7 separate regions of the Homo sapiens genome follow, and all the other regions are linked to region 4. The links are contacts of gene promoters, found by promoter capture Hi-C in blood cells and fetal thymus (Javierre and others, 2016). All regions are on one chromosome and are shown on one strand. Each heading gives the region's core, a stretch centred on a gene start or on the middle of the fragment in contact. The rest is flanking DNA. Distances are from core to core; before and after follow the strand shown. Region 1 holds the start of SLC40A1 (solute carrier family 40 member 1). Region 2 overlaps ANKAR (ankyrin and armadillo repeat containing). Region 3 overlaps GLS (glutaminase). Region 4 holds the start of MFSD6 (major facilitator superfamily domain containing 6). Region 5 overlaps STAT4 (signal transducer and activator of transcription 4). Region 6 holds the start of WDR75 (WD repeat domain 75). Region 7 holds the start of STAT4 (signal transducer and activator of transcription 4).

Region 1 (3,947 bases), core at 237-2,736, 830 kb after region 4:
AGGATGCATGTATAAATGACCCTATTCTCCACGGTTAGCAAACCAAAACCTCTCTAAATTGGGAGAAAGAACTTGAATGTCGTGTGAAAGAAAGGAAAAAAGAGGGCTTGAAAAGGCAAAAAGCAGTGAAAAGCAGTAGTTAAACTGTAACCCCTATCTCTACTCACCAGACCACATCCCAACCGAATCCAGCTGCACCCACCCCGTAGACCTTTGGGGCTCCTGATTGAGAGTGCAGATACAGGGCACATACTCATGCGTGGCTCCCTTCACTACTGGGTGTCAGTCTGGCCTGTGCTCAAGGTGTGGCATCTGGTTGGAGTTTCAATATGTAGGATCCACTACCAGGGTTTTCGTGAGATTAAGAAGGGTAAGGTAACCTACTGGCAAAAGGGGCTGGTATGCCCCAGGGGTTGGTTTGGCACAGCAGGATTAAAACGAAGTCAACCAAGGCTAGAGTCTGGTGTTCTTTAGTCATTCACCTCACCCTCCAGGAGGCCACCGAATGGCTTTATCTGGACAGGGACAGATCCAGGGACACAACTGGGATAACCGGTATTCCTGGTAAGCCTGTCACTGGGGCATTTGGAGGTTAGGTGGGGAAGGGACGCGCGCGTGGGGGCGGGGTGAGAGGGTACAGAGGGAGAAGGAATGATGGTGAAGGGTTTGCTGGGGCTGCAGCATCCTCATTCTGTCTCCAGGACGGATTTGGAGGCCCCAGTTTGGGGATACGGGTAGGTCTGTAACTCGCTGCGGGACTTCACCTTTGCAAGCCTCCGTTTGCTCCTCTCAAGAGGGATGGACTCTGATCTTTGCGCCCCCTTCCTGCCCTTTGATTCTGGTTCTTTGAGGGAAGCCCTGCTATGCAGTCCGGGGAAGGAAAGGCATTCTCTGCTGCAGGCGGGCCGGAATGGGACGGCCAGGAAAGCGGCCTCTGTGGCATGAATTATATTTATTTAGATACCTGTATTAAAAATTATTTTCGTTAAAAAAGGAATCCCCACCCACCAAGCTCGCGCTGGAGCTTTGCACTGCGACCGTCCGGCGGCCGCCCTTTCCCTGAACTGCGGGGTAGCCGGTGCGCAGCGCTTTCTTCCAGCACCTGACGCTTAGTTTCGCGCAGAATCTCCCTACGCCGCCCCGCCGGCTCCACGCGCCTTCCTCCTTTTCCCAGCCCCACGGCCGCCCCCCGAGGTTGCCCTCGCGGCTTCCCGGAGAGCAGGAAAACCCGGGGAGTGGAACGCGTCGAGGCGAAGGTCCCCGCAAGCCGCGCAGGGTGTCTGCGGCCGGTTGGACGCTTGCGCCCGGGGTGGGCGACTCCTCCGGGCAAGGGCGCGGGGACGGCCCGGCGCGCAAGGTTGACGGGAGCTCGTCTCGCGCCGCGGGGACGCCCGGGCGGCCCTGAAGGGGACGGGGCGGCCCCAGTCGGAGGTCGCAGGGAGCTCCGCCCCCGACTCGGTATAAGAGCTGGGCCCGGCCCACGGCGGCGGCGGCGGCGGCGGAGAGAGCTGGCTCAGGGCGTCCGCTAGGCTCGGACGACCTGCTGAGCCTCCCAAACCGCTTCCATAAGGCTTTGCCTTTCCAACTTCAGCTACAGTGTTAGCTAAGTTTGGAAAGAAGGAAAAAAGAAAATCCCTGGGCCCCTTTTCTTTTGTTCTTTGCCAAAGTCGTCGTTGTAGTCTTTTTGCCCAAGGCTGTTGTGTTTTTAGAGGTGCTATCTCCAGTTCCTTGCACTCCTGTTAACAAGCACCTCAGCGAGAGCAGCAGCAGCGATAGCAGCCGCAGAAGAGCCAGCGGGGTCGCCTAGTGTCATGACCAGGGCGGGAGATCACAACCGCCAGAGAGGATGCTGTGGTGAGTGTCGTTGACCGAAAGCATATGGTGGAAACCCAGGTGGGGCTTTGGAGACAAGCAACTCTACACGAGTTCTGGAGGAATGTGGCTCTGCTGTGAACCATAGCTTTGTAAAAAGATCCTTTGACTCATATTTGGTGGACGTTAAGGAAGAAAGGAAATTCAGGGTGTGGGAAAAGGGGTTTGCACACAGGCACGGATGGAGTAGATTGGGCAGTTTGGATTGCCTTGTGTAAAAAAGAAACAAAACAAACAAACCAACCAACCCAAAAAAGAATGCTGAAACAAGAGTTTCTTCACTGTATGTGAAATGTGAAGTTGGGCAGTTATTGACTAGGTCAATAACTGAATTTAGTGAATGGTATTAAGTGAACGAAATACATCGGTTCATAGGTAACTTGATAAAATGTACGTGGTTTGTCCTGCAAAGTAGTTTTTAATAATCATGTTCTAATGAGATCAAATGGATAAGCATTCTGCCCTCAGCTCATTAAGTGACTACCATCGCTTTTTGTCACCCCGCCTGTGTCTTTGCAGGATCCTTGGCCGACTACCTGACCTCTGCAAAATTCCTTCTCTACCTTGGTCATTCTCTCTCTACTTGGGTAAGTGAGAATGCATAGTCTTACAACACAGTTGCGCAATTTTTTATTTCCTTTCGTTCTAGCCAGTTGTATTAAGCCAACTTCCAGTTTTGTCAAGCAGTTAAAGAAATAAATCATCCAAGTACACATGCTTTAATGAAAACGTTATTTACATCGAAGATCTTTCCCCATGAGTGTTAGTTAATGCAACTTAATTATCAGATCATCGTAGTTTATGTAGATAGACAACTATCCAGACAAGATTATCAAGGAAAGGAATATTTGCCTTGTTTTTAAATTTTATGTTGCATTAGTAGCTTTGGTAAATAGACATATCTGCTACAAAAGATGGATGGATGTCTCATATACCTTCTCTTCTTCACATTTTAAAATATTTTGTTTTCTTTTTTTGTTAAAATTTAGTTCCAGCGTGCAGCACCATGAGAATACAATAGAATGGTAGAGTGACTGACTTAAGCTAATAATAACATTCTAAGATTAATTGAAACATAAATGACCCCCAGAACAAATATCTGAGTGACAAAAATTCTGGTCTTTAAAAATGTTATCTATAGTTAGATAAAGTTTGGGGCAGTGGAGGCTATCTTAAAATTAATCATCCAATGAATATCAGCAATGGATTTACAGTTTTCCCTCTGACTTTCTAGGTTGTCCTGGAAAAGACCTAGTGTTTCTGTAGATCTGGGCTCCTAAAACTCTCTCCGAAAAATAATAAACTAGAAGGGTGCTAGATATATGTTCAGTGATGATTAGAATCTTTAACATTAAACAATTATTGTTTAAAAGCAATAAATCTGGCTATATTCTGTCCATGGCTCATATGTATTTAAAAAGAATGGAAAGAATTTTGAGAGTAAATTTTTTGAATGTTATTTTCCTTTTAAATTGGAAACTTATATTGGATCATCCTTAAGACATGGATGGAAACCACTGGAAGAGGAAATCTATACCCAATACCTTTGAGAAATTGTTAAGCTACATTATTGGTTCTCTAAGAAATAGCAGTTTATAGATGACATTTTAGAAAAGCAAGCTCCTATCTTACCAGAGGCTTACACAGGGGTGACTCTGCAAATACATGTAAACAAAGTGGAATTGGTGTGAGTTTGTTTTAATTCCAACAGCTGATGATGCTAAGTAGAAACCTAGTGAAACAACCCTTAATAAATAAAAAGCAATAGTTTGTTCCCCCAGTTTAATTCAGTAAATATTAAGTATTAATAACATGTGATGGGAATAGTATCTGAAATTCTCAGCCTGTGGTCTGGCCTTGCTCTTAGAGGAAGAAGATGCCTCTCTTCCAAGTTCTGATTATGGTTTATGTGACCTTTGGTTAATAGGTTAGGAGGTCAGATTTGCCAGAAAACCAGTGGCACCGTGGTTGTTCCAGGAGGATATTTTGTCATGTTCATTAAAAGTCCCACAAGAAAGGTGACACATGCTTATCCCAACTTTACAGTAAGTCAAGCAAAGGAAGTTCTCATGAGA
Region 2 (3,634 bases), core at 980-3,479, 710 kb after region 4:
AAAACTTTGGTTTTCTGTGTAGAATACCTTAGAGCCTTAATTGAAGACATGTTCTGTTTGAAGAGTATTTAAGGTTTCCAATAAAATGTACACCCCTCAAGAAAAATTTCCTGAGCACCTATGAAGGCCAAGCGTTTTTCTGGGTGTTAGGAAACTGTGGCTAACAAAACAGACCAAATCCTTGTCCTTTATGGAGCTTTATATTCAAGTGAGGGAGACTAACTAACTAAATAAATTTATATAAGGTAGCCATAAGTGATACTTAGAAAAGAAAAAGAGAGAGCAATAATGTAGGAGGCACACTATTGTTACTCAACTGGAAATTTCTACAGGGCGGATGGGACAGGTAAGCTTCCTTTTTTCCCGCTCCAGTTCCACTCACCTCCTTTACCACCCTGGCTCTCCTGCACCTGCAGAAAAAGCAACCTGTGTCCTCTGGCTCCTTGTCAGTATCTGCCAATGGATAGCTCTGGCAGGAGATTGGAGGAGGAAGAATGAGGTCGGGCTCCCTCTCTGAGGTCATCTCAGGTTTGCTGTGCTCCTCCTCTAACGGAAGATGGCCAATTTGAGTAACTATCCCCTCCCCCTTGACAATTCAGTTCGTTGTACGTAATTTCTTTAAAACAAAAGCCTTTCTGAATTCTCTTATACAGAGTATGAAGGTATAGCCTCTTAAATATAGACAAAGAAAGTATAACCTCTTAACATTTTGTTTTTCTCCATATCCAACATTGAGGTTAAGTCTACTACCTCAGTCAAAAACGACTCATTCCTCAGACCTCACAGATTGTTACTGCCACTAGATGGCAGCCTATCTAATTTATATTATAATAACTTTTTTTTTTTTAAGTTGTAGAAACCACTTGTGGGCCTGAATTTATAAAAAATAAAGGTGACAGCAAATTCCACAGGAAAAAAAGAGAAAACTCCCCAAACTGAAGAGGAATACCAATAAATAACTATGAGTAGAAAGTAATTTATGCTTCAAAATGAATACAAAACATCATTATGCAACATTCTGATGCAACAGTATTTTAGAGATTATATACTATAAGAAAAGTTCTAATATATGCAATAGCCTTTTTAAATGCACCAAATACTTTATTTATGTCTTACCATTTCTTTCCTTTTTTACCTCTACTTTGGATGACTCTGTTTTAAAAGGGAATGCACATAGAAGTATGATCATTAATATACAGCAGTTTCCTAAGTTGTTCAAGAAGACTCATATGAATAAGAACAAAATGACTATGTAGATGTATCTGGCAAGATTACATCGAACAGTGTTGAGAATAACTTTTGGTCAAGTCATCCAGGCATGTCATATGCAACCTGACAACGCATTAAAAGCAGACCTGGAAACTCTGCCCCCCAAATGGCTGCTTAAAACTCACAGGTGGGACAATTTTGTGTTGGTTAAGCAATAATATTGGAAGTAGAGTACTATGTTTTCCACACTTCAAAATCTACCTAATTCTCAGCAAATGGAAACTCAAGCAGTCAGAGGGCGCATGAGAAACTTTTAATTTATCAAAGACTTTTTCCACACTAAAAAAGGCTTAAAGTAATACATCTTTAAATAGTGTTACCTATTGCATTTAAATGTGATTGAATTGTGTCTTATTTTAATTAGGTTCATTATGTATTATGTATTGAATATTTTCAGTAACAGAAGAATCTGAATATCAAAACATTTTAATCATACTGATAGAGTACAGAATTTATGGATATTCAATACGGTTAAAGCAAAACATTTTGTTTTGGCGTCTGTAAAAATTTAACATAGCTTATTAAGATAGCTGACTTCATTAAATATAAAATCACCACTTCTTATTGCCAATATTGTTGCATTGGCCATTCCTGACAATTTACATATATATGTACATATATATGTGTAACCTCAAACTCCTGGGCTCAAGCAATCTTCCTGCTTCAGCCTCTCAGAGTAGCTAGGACTACAGGCGTGTACCACCAAGCCTGGCTAAGTTTTTTTTTTTTTTAATTTTATGGGCAGGGGGTCTCGTTATGCTGCCCGGGCTCATCTTGAACTCCTAGTCTAAAGTGATCCTCCAGCCTCAGCCTCCCAAAGTGTTGGCAAGACAGTAGTGAGCCACTACACCTGCCCCTGACAATTTATCTATATTTTCCTTTCCAGTTATGGAGGGCCACCAATTTCATTTTCAACTCTGTTTTTATTCTAGCTAAATTTATTTCAATGATTATAAAATATCCATGCATATTTAATAATCACAAAAATAGCTTTTAAAGTTTAAATGAGGTTAACCTTAAAGGGGCTATTAATGCTAAACATTATTATGATAAAGAAATTTTTTGTTATTAAATGTAATTTAAATATATGTAATATAAAGAAACTATTCCCTGTTTGAGGATCCTGGAATAAAGAATGATTGTTCTACTGGGACCTGACAGTCATATCTATTGCTGTTCTCTGAATTTCTATAGTATATCAGTGTATATTAATTTTGCCAGTGCTTATCAAATGATATCCTGCCTTCACCCATCCATGCATTAACTCAACAAATATTTTCTGAGCAACCATTAAGCCACACTTTCATCTGGACATTAGTATACCACGGCAAATAAAGTAGGCTAAATCTTTGCCCTCTTATAGAGCTTATACTCAAATGAAGGAGACACAATGAGCAAATATAAAACCATATAAGCTAGCTATAAGTGATACTTAGAAAACTAAAAGAAGCCTTTCTTAGATAAATGAAACAAAAACCTCAACTTTGCTCTAGTTAATACCAAATTTTAACCTGCTCTAAAATCAACGTGCATTCCTAATGCTGAGTAAGGGTAAATAAAATAACAACATTTTAGGTTAAAAAACTTTATGGTACCTTGGCTGAACGTAACAAAGCGCCTCTGGTTGACCTTGAAGTTAGCATTGCACAGTTGACATATAATAGAAACTCTGTTGTGCAGGGCAGCATGATGAAAAATAGTATAACCTGCTTCATCTGAAACATTGATTGTTGAGCTTGAGGTTTTACGGCTAAATGTGTGGAAAACTGCAGACAACCCTCTTTCAACAGCGGACTTCATACCAAATGGAATACTCTAAAATTAAGAAGGCCAGAATCAGTTTATCAAAATGCACCTAAAGTTTGGTTTAAGGAAAAAAATACATGAAGTGTATTAACAGAATCACATGAATGCTGTTAAAATTAAGTAGAATTTTCACAAGATCCATGCATGGAAAGTTTCTTACTGGATAATGATTAAAGTAGTTAGAGCTATAAGCAAATATTAAGAATTTAAAAAATATTTTGGGGAATTTTTTATTATTAATTTTTTTCTAAAATATTTTAAAAGCAAATGGAGATCATTGGGTTCCTTCTCTGATTTAAGAAAAACCTAATTCAGAAGTCTAGAAATTTGAAATATATAGCTGTAGAAATACAGTTTGTCATCCAAAGGTAAAAATGTCACCCTCTTTAGACATTCTGACTAATATTTAAAAATTCAACTAACAAATTTTTGAGGTTTTAATTTGTGGACGTGAAAACAAATAAATGGAAAGTAAATACCAGTCTAACCTTTGAAGCTGGTGAGCTTCTTTGCTCAGTTCCAGAAGCTGTACTTCAAGGCTTGTTGAAACAGATGTGGA
Region 3 (3,887 bases), core at 19-2,518, 540 kb before region 4:
CCATTCAGAACATCTGGCTGGTCTCAGGCACTCAAGGCCTACAACTGGCTGCTAGAGATGCTCTTTCCCCAGGCTGTCAGGAGGCTCCCTCTCCCCCTCCCTTTGGGTAGGTCTCCATTCAAATGTTCTCTCAAGACTCTAAAACACTCCCCTCTTTTCATCACTCCTTATCCCTTACCTTGCTTTTCCCCTTCATATATATATATATATTGTATTGTTAACTATATCCTTTTTAACTATATTTGTTATATATAACTATATATAAAGTATATATATTTTTATATATACTTGTTTTTTGTCTCTCTCATTAAATATAGGCTCCATGTGGGCAGAGACCACTTGTCTTTCTGTTCCCCACCGTAAACTCAGTGTCTATCACACATAATAGGTGCTCATTAAATATCTATTGACTAAGTGAATATTCTCCCTCAAGGCATCAAATATTCAATTTTGGGTATTAAATTGCAAAATTAATTCCTCTATCGGCCCCCAACCCTGCATTTTATTTTTTTTGAGACAAGGTCTCGCTCTGTCACCCAGGCTGGAGTGCAGTGGCAAGATCTCGGCTCATACAACCTTCGCCTCTCGGGTTCAAGTGATTCTCCCACCTCAGCCTCTGGAGTAGCTGGGATTACAGGCATGTGCCACCACTAATCTAATTTTTGTAGTTTTTGGTAGAGACGGGGTTTCACTAGGTTGGCCAGGCTGGTCCCAAACTCCCGACCTCAAGCGATCTGCCTGCCTCAGCCTCCCAAAGTGTAGGGATTACAGGTGTGAGCCCCTGTGCCCAGCCCATCTACCTTAACTTTTACATCTTTGAATATCATTACAAGATTTATTCAATCATTAACTGATGCCTCTGCTTCTGGTCCTTCTTCCACCCTCCAAAACCTCTCCACATACTTCTAATCATATTCTCAAAACATTGCTCTAATCACTACAGGTTTCTAAGCAGCGGAGTATCAAGAAACCCAAAATCATTCCTGATAACATTTAAGTTCTTCAGCCTTGTATTCAAGGTTCTTCAGTCCAGCTAACTTAATTTTTCTTCTCAACCTCAATAGAGCAAAATTGGTCTTACTGCCCTTGTTTTTGTCTTGGTGTCTATGCTCTTAAGAACACCCAGATTCCTAATCAAATCCTTCCCTTCCCTCAAAGACTAGCCCGAAAGTCCCTTCCTTGCTGTCAGTCTTCCCCAGGCCATCCCAGCCCAGCATTCATTATCTATGTAGCTTATTGCCAGCTGCCCACACAGTGCCCTGTGACAGCATGTGCTAGGGACAGAGTCAATTAGATACCTCCACTCCCACCACAACCCTGGATCTACCTCCTGCTTCCTCCCACAGTGCATACTATTCTCCTGAAATCATTTTTCCCCACCCATTTCTCACTGATATGTTATTCTTACCCATTCCTGTGAACTCTGCTCCAATCTCTTAAATCAAAAGTAATCTCCGTCTACCTTTGCTGCACTATGGCACTATAACACATGACCACATGGAGCATTTGTGTGTCTTACTTCCCCCACCACTAAGAAAAATCCAAATTCCCCTGTATATACCATTAATATATTAATTACCCAGTTATTATTTTTAAAACTATGTTGGTACTTCTAAGCAATAAAGCCTCATCTGTTTCAGTGACTGGATATAAGAACTACACATTCCCCTTTAAAATTTTGAATTTAGACCATGCTCGTTTGAAGAGATTTTATTATAGTATGTGTGTAGCACTTAGTCACTTCATTATTCAACATTTCAAACGTTCTAAAAGTCCATTTCTTATTAATAAGGCCCAAAATAGAAGATTTTAGAATATACTTGGTTTATTCAGAGTATATTGTTATTCAAAAGCATGAGAAAAAAAAATCAGGAAACTTTAATGTACAAAGGCTTTGTAACTAATCAGAAGGGAAAAACACTAGCTCGCCTTAACAAAATTATTAAAGACTAACATGGAAGTTTGGTATTCTTCCCATGAAAACAAAAGGCTAGCTATGGAGCTGGATTTAGTCCAAACCAGAAGATAGGTGCTTGAACACAAAGTGAGTGTAATTCTCTCCAAAACAGAAAAGCACTAGGAGGCAGCCCATGCACAGGCACTATTTAAAAGCAAAACCACAAATTCCTCTTCTTTCTAGCATCAACAGCCCCCTATACTTTTAAGTTTACATAAATTATGAAATGAGCTGTGGGTAGAATGCCACAAAAGAAAATGAAACTAGTTTAACACTTTTGAGACAACAGATGGAGTATTTCATTTAGGGACAGTCTGCTTCCTGGTCTGTTAAAGAGCGCCACGAGTATTTCCAACTAAGCTGACACACCCTCTGGAATGCCTATCATAGCAAACAAACTGAAGGAGAGGGGCACTCTAGAAGATCAGTCATCCACCTCCACACCAATACTTGCAAAGGATGTAGGTGTGCTAACCATTGATCAAAGCTCATTCCCCTATTTCCCCACTGGATACTTGAGTTACATTGATTTTAAAATACCTGTCAAGGAGGCCAAAGTCCAGAAAATAATGGGTTAACAGTAAATGCCAGAGGCATGGAAGCTATGTTTTGATAAATAATTCCTTACTATAAAGAAACAGACTATACACAGCCGCAATAATAGCTATTAAATTAAGGGCTCTGATGTTTAATGTATACCTCCCCATGGCAAAGAGACACTGCACCTGGGCAGAGAGCCATTAAAATTTATAAATTAACTGTTAACAGTTTCCCCTTCATCTTGTAGATTTTCCAGCACTACTGCATTTTTCTTATCAAGTCTCTTTATCAGAATCTGCCCGAACCAGACAATCTTATCTTAGTTTATTTGTACAAAGTCATGACAACAGTGGGACAAAAAATGTTACAGTTCACATGAGTTCACTTAACACTGGCATGCTTGGCATAGCAAATCTCACTTTTTTCCAAAACAGCTAGAAGCAGGTGGGGAGTGTATCAGTTTTACACATCTAAAACATGGCATTCCTAAGTCTTTAATCCTATCATTATCCTACTCAGTTTGAGCTTGTTTAAAGGTTGAGTTGTGTGACTTCTGTAAATGCCCTAATAATTCTGTACTTATGAGTAAGTAGCAATTATTAGAATTATATACTCACATTACTCTGTATTTATATAGTGGATGACCCTAAAACATTCAACATTTTAAACAGTTATAGTTGTTTTTAAAAATCCCTGACAGGCTGGTTATAAAATATGTTGATAGATATATTTTATTTATTACTACCACTGAGATTAAGGACCCTGGCTCAAGGTCACACAGCATATGAATTAGTGATGGAGCTTGAGTAGAACTCAGGTATCTGGATTCCCAATTCTGTACAACTAGACCATGATGATGTGAGTCCTTAATAGATCTCAGATTGTTATCCAAAGCACAGAAGGAAACCAACGGATTAAATATCAATTTAGCTCTAATCCATAAAAGTTCTTTACTCAATATTGGAAGGAAGCCTAGATGGGACCAAAGCGGGAGGGGAGAAAAGGAAGAAAGGGAGAAGATGGAGGGAGGGAGAGACGGAGGAAAAATTGGTTCACTGGTTTTACACTTTACTTCAACTATTTAATTTCTAACTCCATTACCAACTGCCAAACCAAAATTTCCTCTGTTTTTCATCTTTAGTTTCTGTCTTCATATAAACATGAATTCAGCCTGTTTGGAACTGCTATAATGAAAAAAAAAAGCAGGTAACTGAAAAAACATCCTTCTGTTTCTACCACCTCTAGTTTGAGATAAGCTGCTCTCATTTCCAGCTCAGTACAGTATCTGTTGTCATGGAATAGATACTTTTCTTCAACTGTTAAATAAACCATCATGACTCCAGATCCAATTTTGTTTTAAAGGCTTCACTCCAACTTGGCAGATTATAGT
Region 4 (3,598 bases), core at 934-3,433:
TTATCCTACATGGCTAAATGTTAACATAAGTAATACATGTACATTGAAATCAAGTTAATTTTCAAAGGCACGAAGCTAAGGAAGACATCTGCGTAGGTGGAGAGACTTAATAGGTTCTGATTAGGGAGGGACACCATGTGGAAATTTCCTGGGCTTTGGAGCCAGAAACATGAGGTCAAATTTAACTCTACCTCTTACTGATTATGTGGTTTGTGTAAGTTGCTTAACCCTTCTGAGCTTCCTTTTTGTCATGCACAGAACTAGGGGAAAGATTTATCTTACAGAGATTGAGATACTAAATGTTTACAATGGTGTCTTGAACATAATAAGTACCCAAAAAAATGCCTTAATACTGTTAATAGTCCAGACACTATATATGATGGAATTGGTGATCCAATACTCACACCACCAAATACCTGTGAACTCTGCTTTTTGTCTTTGTGTTTTATTTGCCTTCACGCTTTTATATTTATTTGTATAGAGATGGAAAGTGCCTTAGAAATAAACTGCTGTAAACATGAAGGACACACAACTACTTAGTAGCTTTAATGCATTATTGAAGTGATGTTCTCTCCTCCTGTTTCCCCAGAGCATCCTGCACTGGGCTCATTAACAATGTCCCATCCTTCCCCTAAGCAATCCTAAATTTTACTTACACCTCGTGATAAATACAAGCCATCTGACTATCACTAAACAGCTGACCATATCCTGCACCTCTGCTAGCAGCTTGACGTGTCAAAAGCCAAGCTTCCCAAAGAGGAGGATCCTATCCTTTTACTTAACAAGGCTAAAACAGATGCATACACTTTTAGCTGGCTAGTGCCCACATCTTGGGGAAAGGACCTACCAAGTACACATCTCCTTTTATTACATATTTTAGTCAACTGTATGTCCACCCACCCTTCACATTCATCTATACTTAAGAGGTTAGATTTCTAGAAAATCATGGACTTCTAGAAGGATTAGGGGAAATTTTGGCCACTATAATATCCAACCATCCTCTTTTCCATGTGAGAAAACTGGGGCTCAGGAAGATGTGACATGCCCAAGCACACACATCTATTTAAATACCAGTTGGGATTAGAACCCCAACTCTTTAAGTCTTTTGCACACTAATAAGCAAGGTATTATATGTTCCAGTAGTTCTGTGAGGTGCTTATTCAATCTTTTTGGGATGAAAAGAAACGTCCGTGGTTGCGAATGCATAAAGGTAATTAACCCACCTGTCTGTCCATGTGGGGATGGGATTAACGAGGGGGAAAGTTGCGTTTGTATTTTTCCACCATCTTACCTAAATTTGCAGGAAAATTGCTCTATGGGCAATAAATATGACCCAGAAAGACTAGCAACCCCCAGTAGTATCTCAAAAGGGCTCCAGAGACATGTTAGACCAAGTGGAAGTAAAGCACGAGGTGGGGGATGTCTGCTAGGATGGTGGCTGGCAGAGCAGAGGTATTTTTTTTTCCGTATTTATTAACCTGGGAGGGCAGACGTTGTCAATTTCCTCCTCCTGCCACACAAGTGGCCGCGTCCTTGTCACTGGGGCTGTGTGGAGGTTCTCACCTCCTCCTTTTTCCCAGGGATGTTTATGGCGAGGGCGCGGGTCGGCCCGGGCGGAGGAGGACCCGGGCATCGGCGCTCACCCTCCGTCCCCACCCGCGGCAGCAGCTGTGGGCGCCCGGCGAGGGCTCCCTGGGCAGCGCCTTTGTTTTCCCGACTCCAGTTACGTTTGCGGAAGTGCTGCCAGCACGGGGCGCGCTGGGGGCGCAGGCGGCAGCCTCCCCCAGCACCCCACAAAGATGACACCCGACACGGAAGCCGGGGGAGGGAGGGAGGGAGGGAGCGGCGGGCGAGCGAGGCCCGAGCGGAGACAGCGGCGCACGCTGGGCTCCGAGCCCCGGCCCCGAAGCCCCTTTCCCGGCAGCAGGTGTGCGCGGCTGAGGTGCCTACCCGCCCTCCGGCTGGGCCCGTGCGGGGCGGGGGAGGCCAGGGCGGGTCTGCGAGCCCCTTCTCCGCAAGCCGGGCCCGACTCACCTGCTGCGGCGGCGGCAGCGCTCAGCTGCGCGGGGCGCGGGGAGCCCTGTCCCCGGAGCACGGGGCGGCGGCTCGGGGCGCCGGGGCGGCGGCTGTCGGGGCAGCGCGCACCATCCCGGGCTGCTCGCGCGCTCCTCCGGGGCTGCGACGGGCTGGGCGGGGCGCGGCGAGGCGAGGCGAGGGATGCGGACCGGGTGGGGCCACGGAGGACGGAGGCGGAGGGCCCAGCGCTCCCGCCGGCGCGACCTTCTCTCCCGCTGCGGCTCCTCCTCCTCCCCGGCCCCGGCCTCACAGTCGCCGCCGCCGGTCACTACCGGCTGGACCCGTTTCAGGGCCGGGCGCTGAGGACCGGCCGCCAGGTGCAGCGCTCCGCCTCCTGCGGCGGCGGCGGATGCGTCGACTGCCCGCTCCCGGCCTCCAGCCCGCCCCGGCGGCCCGGAGGGACACCTGAACCCAGCCGGGCCCGGGGAGCACGCTGAGGAGGCGAAAGCACTGGGCGAGGCTCCATCCCTACCGCACCCTCCACCCCCCCGCACCCCCAAGCGACTTCCGCTGAGCCCCCAGGCAATGAGTGCGGGCCAGGAAATGTGGGGGAAAATGTACTAACATCCCTTATTCCTTGAGCGCCTTTTAAGTGGCACACACAATGCTAATGCTGTCAGTGCGTTATCTCCGCGTCTGTCCCAGGTTGACCCGGGAGGGAGGAGCCGGCGGGGTGCGGGAGACAAACGATCTGTGAGTTTCGGGGCTCACCAAGAAGGGGGAACACTGAGACGAAGGCACCCTTTTTCAGGAAGCTGCTACTGGCATCTTGCTGAAAAGCCAACCGTGTGTGTCGCACTAAGAATATAATTAAAGTTGTATTTCTAGTTAAACACGCAGAGAGTTGGGGGAGAGTGGAGTATTCACTTGGCAAGTATGTCTGTGTGCCTGTGATGGGCTTTGGGGGATGCCACATCCTGTTCTTAAGGAGTTTATTGTCTTGTTCTGGCAACAACGACAAGAGTGACAATGGTAGCTAACGGCAACAACGACAAGAGTGACAATGGTAGCTAACGCTTATAAACATCGATTATGTACGGGGCACTGTGTAGGTACTCTTTGAGCCTTATAACCCTATAGGTGTAGGAAACGTTATTCCCATTTTACAACTGAGGAAAGCCGAGGCTGAAAGTTAATGTGACCCATCCAAAGTTACTAAACAGCGAAAGGGAAAGCAGGCTTCTTTTGTCTCCAGGCTTTAAGCTCTTAACCGTGAAATCATACTGGTAAGAATTTGATAGGCCCTGAAGTTTCTGAATTTTGAGTCCCTCTTTAGGAAGAATAAAACAATTACAAATACGAAGTTTCTAGGGCCCCTTCCTGAGCTTATGAAGGGTCTCTGAAGCTTAAACTATAGTAGCCTCATGCTAAATCCACTTTCAATATTGACGTAGATATTCAATCATTTCTTTCTCCAGGCATTTCTTTCTCCTGTCAGGAACACGAGACACTGGTCCCCTCCTTGAAACTCTTCCCTTCTCTTCTTTTGGTGCTCCGTAAGTGTTGGATTTTCCTCCTTGAA
Region 5 (3,966 bases), core at 981-3,480, 620 kb before region 4:
AGTAATAAGCAGCTGTAACTAAACTTCACCATGGCCATGGGGGCCTCTCATAGCCACTTGGAGAGCTTCAGTTTTCTCCTTTGTAAGACAGAAGTGGTGCAGGCTTCATGTCTATGACTGAGGGAAAGGAAAAGAAAGAGGGGGTAATGATGAGAAGCTTTTAATAGTAAAACAAGTCTGTATATTGCAAAGGAACCCCAGGGTTTATAAGTTTTATATTTTTAACCTTACTGTAGTCTTACAACTCAGGGTATTTGTTCATTTGCTAGGGAGGGGACCTGTGGATCTCTGCTTCATCCTCTCCCTCCCCCACACTCCCAGCCTACCTTTCCTGGTTGTATCCTAGGACCTAGAGCAATGTCTGGCTAAAAGAGGGATTCAGTAAATATTTGTTGAATACATAAAAGAAAATTTGTTAAATTACTATGCAATTTTAAGGTACGTTCACCATTCTGTTTCTTTAATGAAAGTGTATACAATCCATAAAAATCTTCATCTATAGCACTAAATCTTTGGGCACCATCATGTAGAATATCCTACAGTTGTCACTCACAGACTTGCAGCCACCTGACTTCATGCCCTCTGAAATAAACAAAAATACAAAAGAAAATAAAATCAAACAAACCTGTGGCTTTTCAGTGACTTTCAACAACTGATAAAAATGAAATAACAAATATCAATGCAACAAATTAGGGTTGGAAAATTGGAACAAATACTAGTTCAACATGGTATACCAGAGAAGTTTGGGGAATTTTTCCAAGGTGAGGTTTGCACATGACTGTTACTACAGTACAATGATACTTTTGGGAACACTGACATCTGTACTTCAAGAACGTTTGCAATCATAAGATTCTGATTGGTGTCAATTTTAATGAAAAGAACTGGGTTATTATATCTCCCAAAACATGACTCAATCAGTCCTTATAATCAAACATAAATGAAACGTAGAAAACAGGTAATAGAGTTGATTCTCAATTTTTCCCACACAGTTTAGAGGCATTAATATGTAAAGTCAGATTAGGCCTGCCAAGAGATTTGTTTTTCTCTTCTTGCACATTTTATGCTTATCTAAAAGATTGTGTCCCCTATTTAACAAAACATTTCTGTGTATCACCGAACAACTGCGTTATCTCTCTTCCTCTTATCATTGTTAATATTTTTCTAGACTCTTTTTTCCCCAGTTTTATTGATAATATTGACATTTTTTTCCCCAACATTGTGCCTTTTTGTTTTCCAGTTTCAAGACCAACAGAAAGGGGTGACAAAGGTTATGTTCCTTCTGTTTTTATCCCCATCTCAACAATGTGAGTAATGTTAGTCACATGTGAAATATTTTTATAAAAAGCTTTCCTATAGGAGATTTAAAGGTAGAGCAGAGTACACATAACTGAGAACAAAGCATTGTAATGTGCAATGTCCCATTTCCTTTAATACATAAGGCTAGCCTTCAGGGCACACTTACCACAATCTATTGTGCCTAAAATTATAAAATTCCCCTTTTATATGCCATATATGCCACAGTAAGTTGAGTGTTCTGATATGAAATGATGAATTAGATAACTCAATGTCACAAATAGATGAAGCCCTAGAAATGAGTTCCTGACATAGTAAGTCACCGTGAACTATTATTATTTTTTAATCCTTGTCCATATTGACCTTGTTATCTCTTTAAGCCGAAGTGATTCAACAGAGCCACATTCTCCATCAGACCTTCTTCCCATGTCTCCAAGTGTGTATGCGGTGTTGAGAGAAAACCTGAGTCCCACAACAATTGAAACTGCAGTATGTTCCCTTTATTTTCCATTGCTGGTCAAAGGTGTTTCCAACGATGCAAAGGTGGTGTGTGAATCAAAGGGGCTGAAATACTGCCTGGGTAGGGAGAAAACACATTTATTGGAACAAATTCATGAGCATAACACAAAAGGTGTCTGGATGGTCCTGCGTGTTGCTGATATTATGCGTATTGAAAGCAGACACCTTCAGTTACTTAAACTGCTTTACGTTGTTTCCACCAGAAACCACCAGAGGGCAAAATATTCCTATACCCTACTCAAGCACACTATCGCTGCTTGCACCATGGGCCCCCTCACTCCCCACCACTCTCTACTTTAGCAAACACCATTTATTGGTCAATATTTATAAACCTAGTATACTATCTAGTTTACTAGTTACTTACTATCTAGTAAACCCAGTTTGCTATCTTAACAGTGCAAACATCACAAATTGCAATTTTTCTTGATTGTGACTTGCATTTCTAGAACCCGGAGCCTCATCAATAATATATGAATAACAGTCAATGGCATAATAATGCTCTCCTTTTTGAGAAATGAGTCATAATCTTTAATGCAATAATGTTATTTGGGATGCATGCTATTTGCTCTTATCCACCAATACTGTCAATGGGTTCAAACCCCCAATTTACATGAAAGTGAACATACATCAGAATAATATAATAGAAACTTGGAGAGACCCTAAGCCTCAAAAAATTTTTATCTGGCTGGCTTTTAGTCCTTCTCTTGAAGATTTCCATAGATGAAAAATTCACTTTACTTTGATAGCTTATTCTAATGTTAGTTCCCTTAAATCGTCAAGTTATTTATGTCTAACTGAACATTTGCTACATTTTGCACCCATTTCCTCATTATGTTTTTGGTGGATAAACAGGCCTTTTTCTTAAAACACTTTTCTGTCTCCTTGAAAGGTACCTTTTATTTTAGACTGATCAACCCCAATTACTTTTGCAAATACTTAGTTTAAGTATTTTAACTAGGTAATAGAAAAATTATGGAGTAATTCGTAGAAAAGAGGACGTTTATTTGCCCAAGAAATAGTGATTGATTTGAAAACCAGTAGTTTCCTCAAAGATTATTTTCATTTTTAATTTTAGATGAAGTCTCCTTATTCTGCTGAATGACAGGATAAACTCTGACGCACCAAGAAAGGAAGCAAATGAAAAAGTTTAAAGACTGTTCTTTGCCCAATAACCACATTTTATTTCTTCAGCTTTGTAAATACCAGGTTCTAGGAAATGTTTGACATCTGAAGCTCTCTTCACACTCCCGTGGCACTCCTCAATTGGGAGTGTTGTGACTGAAATGCTTGAAACCAAAGCTTCAGATAAACTTGCAAGATAAGACAACTTTAAGAAACCAGTGTTAATAACAATATTAACAGAAGACTCGCTTGCCTGTGTTTGGTTTATTTCTCATTTTGTCTCTCTGGTGTTACTACGATTTTAGCTAGAAGATGTAAGTGTTAATGTTTCAGGGTAGGTCAAGAATAATAAAGTCACACCTACACCTCAGCAAGAAGGCGTGAGGGAAAAGCCAAATAAGCCAATCAGTATGATGAACGCTAGCAGGCATGGTGATCACAGTAGATCCAAGAGGAAAGTCGTGATGGGACATTAGCAGAAATTCACGGGGCATCCAGGGTTGAATTATGAAGCCTCCTTAGTGCCATGTCAACGTTATTCCAACTATGGGGTTCAACAGCTGCTGGTTCCAAAGGAGGAGGGATCCAGAGTCATTCCTGGTGGTATCTTGGGCAAACTGCACTGATTTTACAGGTATTGTAAGCAGACACATGGGTTAAAAAAATAATAATTTAAAAAAACTCATGAGGACTAGGAGGATGAAATGAGGACTAGGAGAATAACAACTCTGGCCTTGGGTAACTGATTTTATTCATAGGTTGCTCATTCTTCATCTCTAGAAGAGGTAAGACTATGTGGGTTCTATGATCTTTCCCAGCTCTAATAGTCTCTCTGGTCCTAAGAATCCAACCTGAGACTGGGGAAAGAGGTTTAGGATGAGATGTTCCATTCCTTCAATTTTCTCTAGTAAAGAGGAAGGGTAGTTGGTTTCCTGGATAGTAATGTATGTGAATTGCAAGTCTATTTTGGTCCTTGCCTCACCCCTACTGGATGTTTAGTGGTGCCATTGCCCAGCTGCTGTCCTTAGTAAT
Region 6 (3,791 bases), core at 293-2,792, 970 kb after region 4:
CTTAGCAAATCAAACACACAATGGACCTCATTATAATGAATAAGGTATAAGAACAGTACTGGTTACATGGATATGAGTCCGAAGCGTCACAGTGTGACAGCCTCTTAAAGCCTGTTTCTTCCTTTGATTCATAAGATCAATGTCAACAAAGCCACAGGACTCATTTTTTTTTGGCTTCTAAGGCAATTTATAAAAGCTCTTTCAGTCATGCTTGCATTACCTTCAACAACTACCTGTCGTACACTCATATGCAGAATATTGTGGGGGTGGGCCGGGCACAGTTGCTCACTGTAATCGCTGCACTTTGGGAGGTTCAGGTGGGCAGATCACTTGAGGCCAGGAGTTCCAGGGCAGCCTGGCCAACATGGCGAAACCCTCTCTCTACTAAAAATACAAAAATTAGCGGGCGTGGTGGCCCGCGCTTATAATACTTGCTACTCAGGAGGCCGAGGCACCAGAATTGCTTGAACCAGGGAGGCGGAGGTTGCAATGAGCCTAGATTGAGCCACTGCACTCCAGCCTGGGTGACAGAGTGAGATTCTGCATCAAAAAAAAAAAAAAAAAAAAAAAAAAGAATATTGTGGAGGCTACAAACTTTCATAAAATACTATCTCTACTCTTCTAAGGCAGAAAGGGTTTTTTGATTTTATTAAGTGCCACCCTACCTAAAGTTATTTGAAAACCTGACAATACAGTAATAATGATTACAGCTACATACATTGAGCCATTATGTGCCGGGCATTGTTGTCTGTAGTTTTAACATATTGAGGCATTTAATCCTCCCAATAACCACGTGAGATGAACTAAATATTGTCCCCCTTTACAGATGATGGCAACTGAGGCAAAGATTAAGAAACTTACAAAGGTTTCATAATGTAAGAAGTGGATTTTGAAGCCAGGGAGTGGTTTGGTTTCCAGCTACACTGAGAAAAGAGACCAAGTCTTAGCGTATTTTTATCTCATAAAGAATCTAACATCTGTTTTCATGTAAAGTTCCGAAAAGACTGCACTATGCTTCATGCACTATGCTTCAGGAGTGAGGAGTGGGTAGAAAAAGCGGAATAGTTTTAGGTTTTAGTCACTCCAAAACATGATTCTGTACGAAAGAGTAGGTACTGCAAAGGTAGTGGCATACACATCCACCCCTGGACCATTTTCCAGCCGCCCGAACACCTTCCAGATCCTCGACACGGAGACCGGCTCCAGGGCCTTTATCTACCTGCAGGTAAACTGTCCAGGAATCGGGGGACGCAACCCAATCTGCAGTGGTAACGGGACCTCCCAGGTACCCTGGGGATCCCCCACAGGCGCGTGCTCTACCCAAAGCCGATATCCGCCAGGCGGGCGAGTCCGAACGCGACTGACAATTCCTTCTCCCCGACCCTCGAGAAACTCACGCCCCGCCCCTCAGCCGACAAAGCGCGGTGCCCCTCATACTTAGAATCTGCAGAGAACACAGCTCTCCTAAAGTTCAACTCGCTGCCGCCACAACGAACCACGCGGATGTTCTCCTCCTCCACCATCTTTGCGCAGTAGCGGAATGGCCAATCTCTGGTCCCGCCCTGAACTTCCTTCGTTGAGCCGGGTAATAAGGCTGTTCCCAGCCCACAGAACCCACCCCCGGGCCCTTCTAGGCCTGAGACTCGGTGGTAGGACTCCGCTTCCGTGCAGGCACCTTTTGTGTGGGCAATGTCAAACTAAGACACTTGTAAGAAAAGGTGAAAGCAAAACAGAGATTTAGAGACAATCAGTTTTTATTATATACCTATACACAATTATTTAATACAGACATATTTCTCTCAGGCCTTGTCAACCTGACTCTATGGCTTTTTCCGCCAGAAGGGAAAGGTGGCGTATAGTGTACCACGTGACCTCCAGTCGTCCCACCGGAGGCGTCGCTTTCTAGTGTCTGTGGTGTCGGCGCTGCAGGATGACGCGAGCCTCTCGCGTCCCTGGTTTTCTCGGTCGCAGCGTTGAGTTATTGGGTGGAAAGGTAGCTTTCTCTTCCTTGTACAGCTTTTTGTTCCTCTCATTAGCCGTTCTTCTGTTCTTGTGAACATCGCTTAGGTTACTACAGAATCTCCACAGTCCTAGGGCCTAGCTTTCTTCCTTTGGAAATCTGGCTCCTACTCCGGGATTCTGGTGCATCTTCCGCAGCGTTCAGTGTAGCTGCTCGGGCTAATCTGACATTCGGCCAGTCCCGCCAGGTTTCAGGGCGCTGGTCTCTGGTTTCCTGAGTTTTACCTTTTCCCATTAGTGAATAGAATCTGTGGGTTAGGAACCCCTAAAATCTCAACATGTTTATTTTTGCCAGTTTATCTCCAGTTTTCCTTTGTAAACTTACACGTATCATATTCTTGGACCCTGTATATTATGTTGCCTATTTTGATTTCGCTTCTTGATTTGTGGATTTACCACAAAATTACCAAGGTCTCAAATATAGTCACATGTCACATAAGGATCTTTCAATCAATGCATATAACATGGTGATTCCGTAAGATTATAATACTGTGTTTTTACTGTACCTTTTATGTGTTTAAATACACAAATACTATTCTGTTACAATTGCCTGCAATATTGAGTACAGTAACATGTTGTTCAGATTTGTAGCCTAGGAGCAATCAGCTATAACGTACAGCCTAGGTGTGTAGTAGGCTGTACCATCTAGGTTTGTGTAGGTACACTCTGTGATATTCACACAATGATGAAATCACCTAAAATGCATTTCTTAGAACATATCCCCATCATTAAGCCACACATGATTATACCTATAAGTTTATTTATGGTGGAGAAATACAATATTCACAAAGGTCAAGACATATCCTGGGACAGCACCACTGTAAAAATCAGGGATAAATTTACTTTTTACTGAGGAGTCTAGCTTATTAAAGTGCTCAAAACTTTATTATTTGGGGAGCCAGAACTAGAAAGGGAGATATTTAATAATTTTGGTTTATCTCAAGCTGTAACCAGCTTTCTCTTTCATGACTGTGATACCCTTTGTCACAGTGGATGGAGTGTAAAATATCACTTTTGATTCTGCAGCCTTAACCTCTTTTTGTTTAGTCTCTTGATGTATGCACAATAAATCTTTTAAAGACTTTGTTGGGTACTTTGTAACCTGATACAGGCTTTTCCTTAGGGCCTGAGCCAAGAAACAAAATAAATATTTTCACTCAAATTAGTGTGACTTTAGTTGTATGTTACTGTATGGTAACTTTAGATTTTTCAGAAAAGAATCAGAAATCCTGATATGGACAAAAACTAGCTGGATTGATAAATGTATAGGAGGATTATTTTACACAGAGTTTTAATTTACTGAAGTGCCCAGAAAGATAAGTCATTTGTATTTTGATTTCTTTTTACATAATTTTTAAGGAACCAATCCCACCTACAGCTGTTTAATTAATAGTGCGTTGTCTTTATCATGTAACAAGAAGGCTGAGGTAGGCAGAATAGGGCTAGTGCAGTGGATCATTCATGCCACCAGGGACCTGTGCTTTCTCTACTTTGTTCTTTGTGTTATTGTCCTTAACCATATTGGTTTTGTCCTTATGCTCACAGTTCATGTTCCTTTCAGTTAGAAGAAATAAGGGAATAGCAAGAAAGAGCATAGCCTATATACAGAAGGAAAAGGATTTTCCAGAAACACTTATTTGGCATCTTCCATCCAGGAAATATTTACTAAGTGCCTAGTATATGCCAGACATTCTTTCAGGCTCTGGGAATACTGGAGTGAGAAAAATAGTTAACAAAATCTGTATGTTACTGGACCTTACCTTATCATGGGA
Region 7 (3,662 bases), core at 935-3,434, 740 kb before region 4:
TGAAGTGGGAAGGGAAACACCTGGGCTATTATCGGGCTCCGTGGCTAACTTATTGAGTCCTCTTGGTCACCTCACTGGGTCTCTTCAGATATGAAAGAGGATTTAGCATTAGATGGGACCAAGACTTCCTCCAACTCTGTGATTCTAGAACAGGCTGATGTCACAAAGGGAGAAGAACGCACCGTAGCAACCAGGGGCAAGGCTACTCAAGGAGAGTAGGAGGAGGCTAGGTCAGGAAGGGCAAGCACTGGTGGCCTACCCAGGACTTGGCCCAACCCTCTGGGTCAGGTCACCCTCGTCGGAGTGAGCGGACCCCGCTGGAATTGGAGCCCAGTAAGGTCTATGAGTTTGGTGTTTTGATCCTGGCTACCCATCCCTTCCATCCCAGGGGTGGTTCACCAGGCTGAGTGGAGCCTTATACTAGGGAGAGAGGAAGCTGAAGAACTGGGCTCCAGGTAAGTAACTCTGCAGAGGATCTCAGATTGTCTAAGGAAACCACTGAAGAAAATGTATGCCCCGCCCCTCCCCTTTTTCCTGGCACTGCTGAGCCACCTGCAGTTGCGAGAGCCGCTGGGAGGGATAAGAGGGAAGAGGACGCCCGGTGAAGGGGCTCCAGCCTGGCAGTTTCTGCGTGTTAGCATTTCTAGAATAGAGTGGGTGGGAACTGACCCAAGTAAAGTCCCAGAGACTCGAACACTGACGCACAGGAAAGCCTCAAGTGGGAGGAGAAATGCAAATCCCCTACTGATGATGGCGTCAGCGGCTTTCTCCTAGGGACTGTGAGGGGCGCTTCTGACTTTGGACTTGAGCACTGCCTGGGACCTGTGCTGAGAGAGCGCTAGGTAAGTGGCCAGACCACACCTTCTGGCTGCCTCTTGTAAGGAGGACATGCTTATTATGCAGGATACTCTGAAGCTTTGCTTTCCCTTGGCGTTTTGACAATTGCTTCATTTTAACCTTCCTGAGGAGGCTTATTATAGAAGGAAGCGCCCGACTCCACGACCCACAGATGCGCCCTGGCACGGGTTCTCCGCGGAAACCGCTCCGCAGGCCCGCGCCACGGTGCCCGGGCGAATCTCCCTGCGGGGGCCAGGGGAGCTGCGGCGGCTGCGGAGGTGTGTCCTCGCGGAGGCTGAAAGTGAGCCCCTCTTCACTTTCTTAGCCAGCTTCTCTAGAGCTGTGATGTCTGACTTTAGATTAGCGTACCTGGATTTCAGAAAAAAGCTTGCAGCTACGGCAGCCGGTGACTGTGGCTTTGATGGGCGCGAGTGACATTTTAGGGCAGGTCATCTCCTTTTGCAAGCTACAGGCCACAGAGCCAAAGCGGCACCACCAGCTCACAGACGGTGGGACAAAATGCCCCTTTAGTGGGATCTTCTAGGAAATGCACGCAAAAAGGACAGACAGGCACTGAGTTTTCAGAAGCAACGTCACAGTTTTCATGAGAAAGAAGTAGCCCCTAGAGAGTGAAAGCAAAGAAACCTGCTGAAGGATGTCTAAAGGCGTTCCCAGAGGCTGCAATAGAAAATGTCCTAGGACTATGTATTCCTTCTTCTTCCTTTTTTCAGCTTTGAATTCAGCTCTCCGAAAGACTCAGATCTTAGTAGTGATTTTTTTCGGTGTTTATTTTTATTTTTTTTAATTTTCCTTTTATTTTCATTTGACACACAATTGTAAATATTTATGGAATATACAGTGATATTTCAATAAATATGAACAATGTGTTATGATCAAAGGATATTCAGCATATCCATCACCTCAAACATTTATCATTACTTTGTGTTGTGAACATTCAAAATCCTCTTAGCTTTTTGAAAATATACACTAAGTTATTGTTAACCATATTCATCCTAGTGTTACAGCACTAGAACTTATTCCTCCCATCTACCTGTAAGTTTTAGTTAGAAAATAGATTTTTCATCCAAATCATAGCGGGGGTTTAACAATAGTATGATGAAAAACTGTAATGCTATTTTCAACTCATGTTCTCTGTTGTCATTAACTAAAATAAATTGATAGATAGGACAATGTTGATAGTAGCATGAGAACAAATGTTCCAATTTTGTGTGGAATATATACACATCCGATGGAATATATATACATCCGATATCTGGAAAAACAAATGGTTCAGACTCAGGAAACCTCAGGTTGTCCCTTAGAAGCCTCACACATTAGGCAGGCGTCATTTCGCCTATTTGATCTTCAAGTTTTTCCTTTTTAAAGTTGACATACTACTTATATCCACCTACCATATTCATAGCAATGTCAGGAGTGCCACTCATTCTTCATTTAACAAGCATTGATTGAGCATTTACAATATGCCTAGAATTGTAAAGTGTAAAGGTTTTCATAAATATAAAATGATATGCAAATAAAACATTACTTCTTTTCCCACTTGCTTTCTCTTTAGCAAAACATTGGCAACACGTTTTTTTATAAATTTTAAGTCATTTACCAGGAGCTCAGGGAAAAGGTGCTCAAAATGATTCTACTTAAAACCCAAAGAATATGTATATGAAATATATGAAATTACCCTGGTGTTCTATAGGCAAAAGGAAACCTTAGCCTATCTATGAGATATGTTGAAATGTTATGGTGATTAATCATGTAAAAGGGGGTTTGGTGTTTTTACTTGACTTAGAATTGCTGAGAAAACAACCAAAAATTTGACTTTGGAAAACATAAAATGCTGTAATTTCAAGGAGGCAGCGTCATACTAATTTTCCTGAGTTAGGAAATATGTCTACAGCTTCTAAATTGGCCAGAGTGGGGTTACAAGGGGGAAATGCGTACTTTTCTTTTATGACAGGCTGCCAAATAGGTATCAAGTGTGGTTTCTTACTCCTTAAGTAACTTGAGGGTTTAACCACTATCAGATGTTTCTCAGAGACAAAAAGACTACATCCTTTAAGAGCTTTGCCCATCTATAATGGATCCTCACAGAGAGAAATGAAACACATTCACTGGTTCAGAAATATTTTTAATTTAAAAAACTGGAGCCTACGAAAATGCATACATAAAATTCTTCATGAAGCTAAGACAAAATTGGACTAGAAGTCAAGAACATAAAGCTGACTCTAGAAGCCAGACAAATCTGAAATAAAGAAAAAAGAAATTTGGCAATTTCATATAAAAGAAGCTTCTTGGGGGGTTGTTCCTCACATATAAAGTCTTAGAGGGTTTTAGGAGGTATAGTAAATGTCAAATACGTTTGCCTTCAAGTTGCTCCAAGTCTAAATGTTGAGGGGACAAGAGATAGGGAAAGAGCTTGTTGATAATAGAAATTCACATAGACAGCTGTGGGCAGGATGTGGGGTGTTTGGCAGAGTGGGAGTGAAAACTTTTTGGAGCAGGTAGAACAGGAGTTCATTTTAGAGCAAGGAAGGCTGTAGTTTAGGGGCACAGAAAGAAGGCTGCTCCCTTCATTAGGGTTGAATTATGAAAAAAAACCTTAGTGAAATTTTTGTATCCTTGGATATATTGGAATTCAGTCATAACATTGACTAATTCTAAGGAAAGAAGAAAATATGTACTAGGGCTATGAACAATATTTTAAAACTCTAATTCTACACCTTCTTTTATAGCATGTCTCAGTGGAATCAAGTCCAACAGTTAGAAATCAAGTTTTTGGAGCAGGTGGATCAATTCTATGATGACAACTT

What was found. The method cuts DNA at HindIII sites, captures the fragments that hold promoters and counts their contacts. A CHiCAGO score of 5 or more calls a contact.
Region 1: a contact is called between the fragment with the promoter of SLC40A1 here and the fragment with the promoter of MFSD6 in region 4, in 2 of 17 cell types (neutrophils and monocytes). The highest score is 7.1, in neutrophils.
Region 2: a contact is called between a fragment that was not itself captured here and the fragment with the promoter of MFSD6 in region 4, in 3 of 17 cell types (total B cells, neutrophils and naive B cells). The highest score is 8.6, in total B cells.
Region 3: a fragment that was not itself captured here is called in contact with the fragment with the promoter of MFSD6 in region 4 in 1 of 17 cell types (naive CD4 T cells); the score reaches 5.2 in naive CD4 T cells.
Region 5: a fragment that was not itself captured here is called in contact with the fragment with the promoter of MFSD6 in region 4 in 1 of 17 cell types (fetal thymus); the score reaches 9.5 in fetal thymus.
Region 6: the fragment with the promoter of WDR75 here is called in contact with the fragment with the promoter of MFSD6 in region 4 in 10 of 17 cell types (total B cells, naive B cells, non-activated CD4 T cells and 7 more); the score reaches 15.3 in total B cells.
Region 7: a fragment that was not itself captured here is called in contact with the fragment with the promoter of MFSD6 in region 4 in 4 of 17 cell types (total CD8 T cells, non-activated CD4 T cells, naive CD8 T cells and 1 more); the score reaches 5.5 in total CD8 T cells.

Annotation. Positions count from the first base shown.
Region 1 is chr2:189,578,325-189,582,271 of GRCh38, reverse strand. It overlaps SLC40A1 (solute carrier family 40 member 1), which reads left to right and starts at 1,486. Exons shown (of 8, transcript NM_014585.6): 1 at 1,486-1,854; 2 at 2,392-2,459. The coding sequence starts at 1,812. RefSeq lists silencers at 1,233-1,402, 1,473-1,532. The HindIII fragment of the contact is 14,460 bases long and covers 1-3,947 here.
Region 2 is chr2:189,695,600-189,699,233 of GRCh38, reverse strand. ANKAR (ankyrin and armadillo repeat containing) reads right to left here. Exons shown (of 23, transcript NM_001378068.1): 7 at 2,865-3,084. Among named protein-coding and RNA genes, the nearest start is that of ANKAR, 23 kb to the right of the region's middle. The HindIII fragment of the contact is 3,751 bases long and covers 354-3,634 here.
Region 3 is chr2:190,946,318-190,950,204 of GRCh38, reverse strand. The region is part of intron 14 of GLS (glutaminase); the gene reads right to left. Among named protein-coding and RNA genes, the nearest start is that of STAT1, 66 kb to the left of the region's middle. The HindIII fragment of the contact is 5,276 bases long and covers 1-3,887 here.
Region 4 is chr2:190,406,940-190,410,537 of GRCh38, reverse strand. MFSD6 (major facilitator superfamily domain containing 6) reads right to left here and starts at 2,183. Exons shown (of 8, transcript NM_017694.4): 1 at 2,035-2,183. RefSeq lists a silencer at 1,563-2,602 and an enhancer at 2,863-2,912. The HindIII fragment of the contact is 2,674 bases long and covers 750-3,423 here.
Region 5 is chr2:191,028,788-191,032,753 of GRCh38, reverse strand. It overlaps STAT4 (signal transducer and activator of transcription 4), which reads left to right. Exons shown (of 24, transcript NM_003151.4): 22 at 1,238-1,304; 23 at 1,674-1,782; 24 at 2,888-3,178. The coding sequence ends at 2,914. STAT4-AS1 (STAT4 antisense RNA 1) reads right to left here. Exons shown (of 3, transcript NR_136318.1): 2 at 1,657-1,869; 3 at 440-582. Among named protein-coding and RNA genes, the nearest start is that of STAT4-AS1, 9.2 kb to the right of the region's middle. The HindIII fragment of the contact is 1,766 bases long and covers 1,348-3,113 here.
Region 6 is chr2:189,439,225-189,443,015 of GRCh38, reverse strand. WDR75 (WD repeat domain 75) reads right to left here and starts at 1,542. Exons shown (of 21, transcript NM_032168.3): 1 at 1,438-1,542. The coding sequence starts at 1,523. It also overlaps a transcript of COL5A2 not described here. RefSeq lists enhancers at 1,097-1,146, 1,167-1,396, 1,417-1,546, 1,807-2,026, 2,047-2,206 and 1 more. The HindIII fragment of the contact is 5,353 bases long and covers 1-3,791 here.
Region 7 is chr2:191,148,127-191,151,788 of GRCh38, reverse strand. STAT4 (signal transducer and activator of transcription 4) reads left to right here and starts at 795. Exons shown (of 24, transcript NM_003151.4): 1 at 795-842; 2 at 3,585-3,662. The coding sequence starts at 3,586. RefSeq lists enhancers at 376-455, 586-635 and a silencer at 1,106-1,155. The HindIII fragment of the contact is 1,915 bases long and covers 1,227-3,141 here.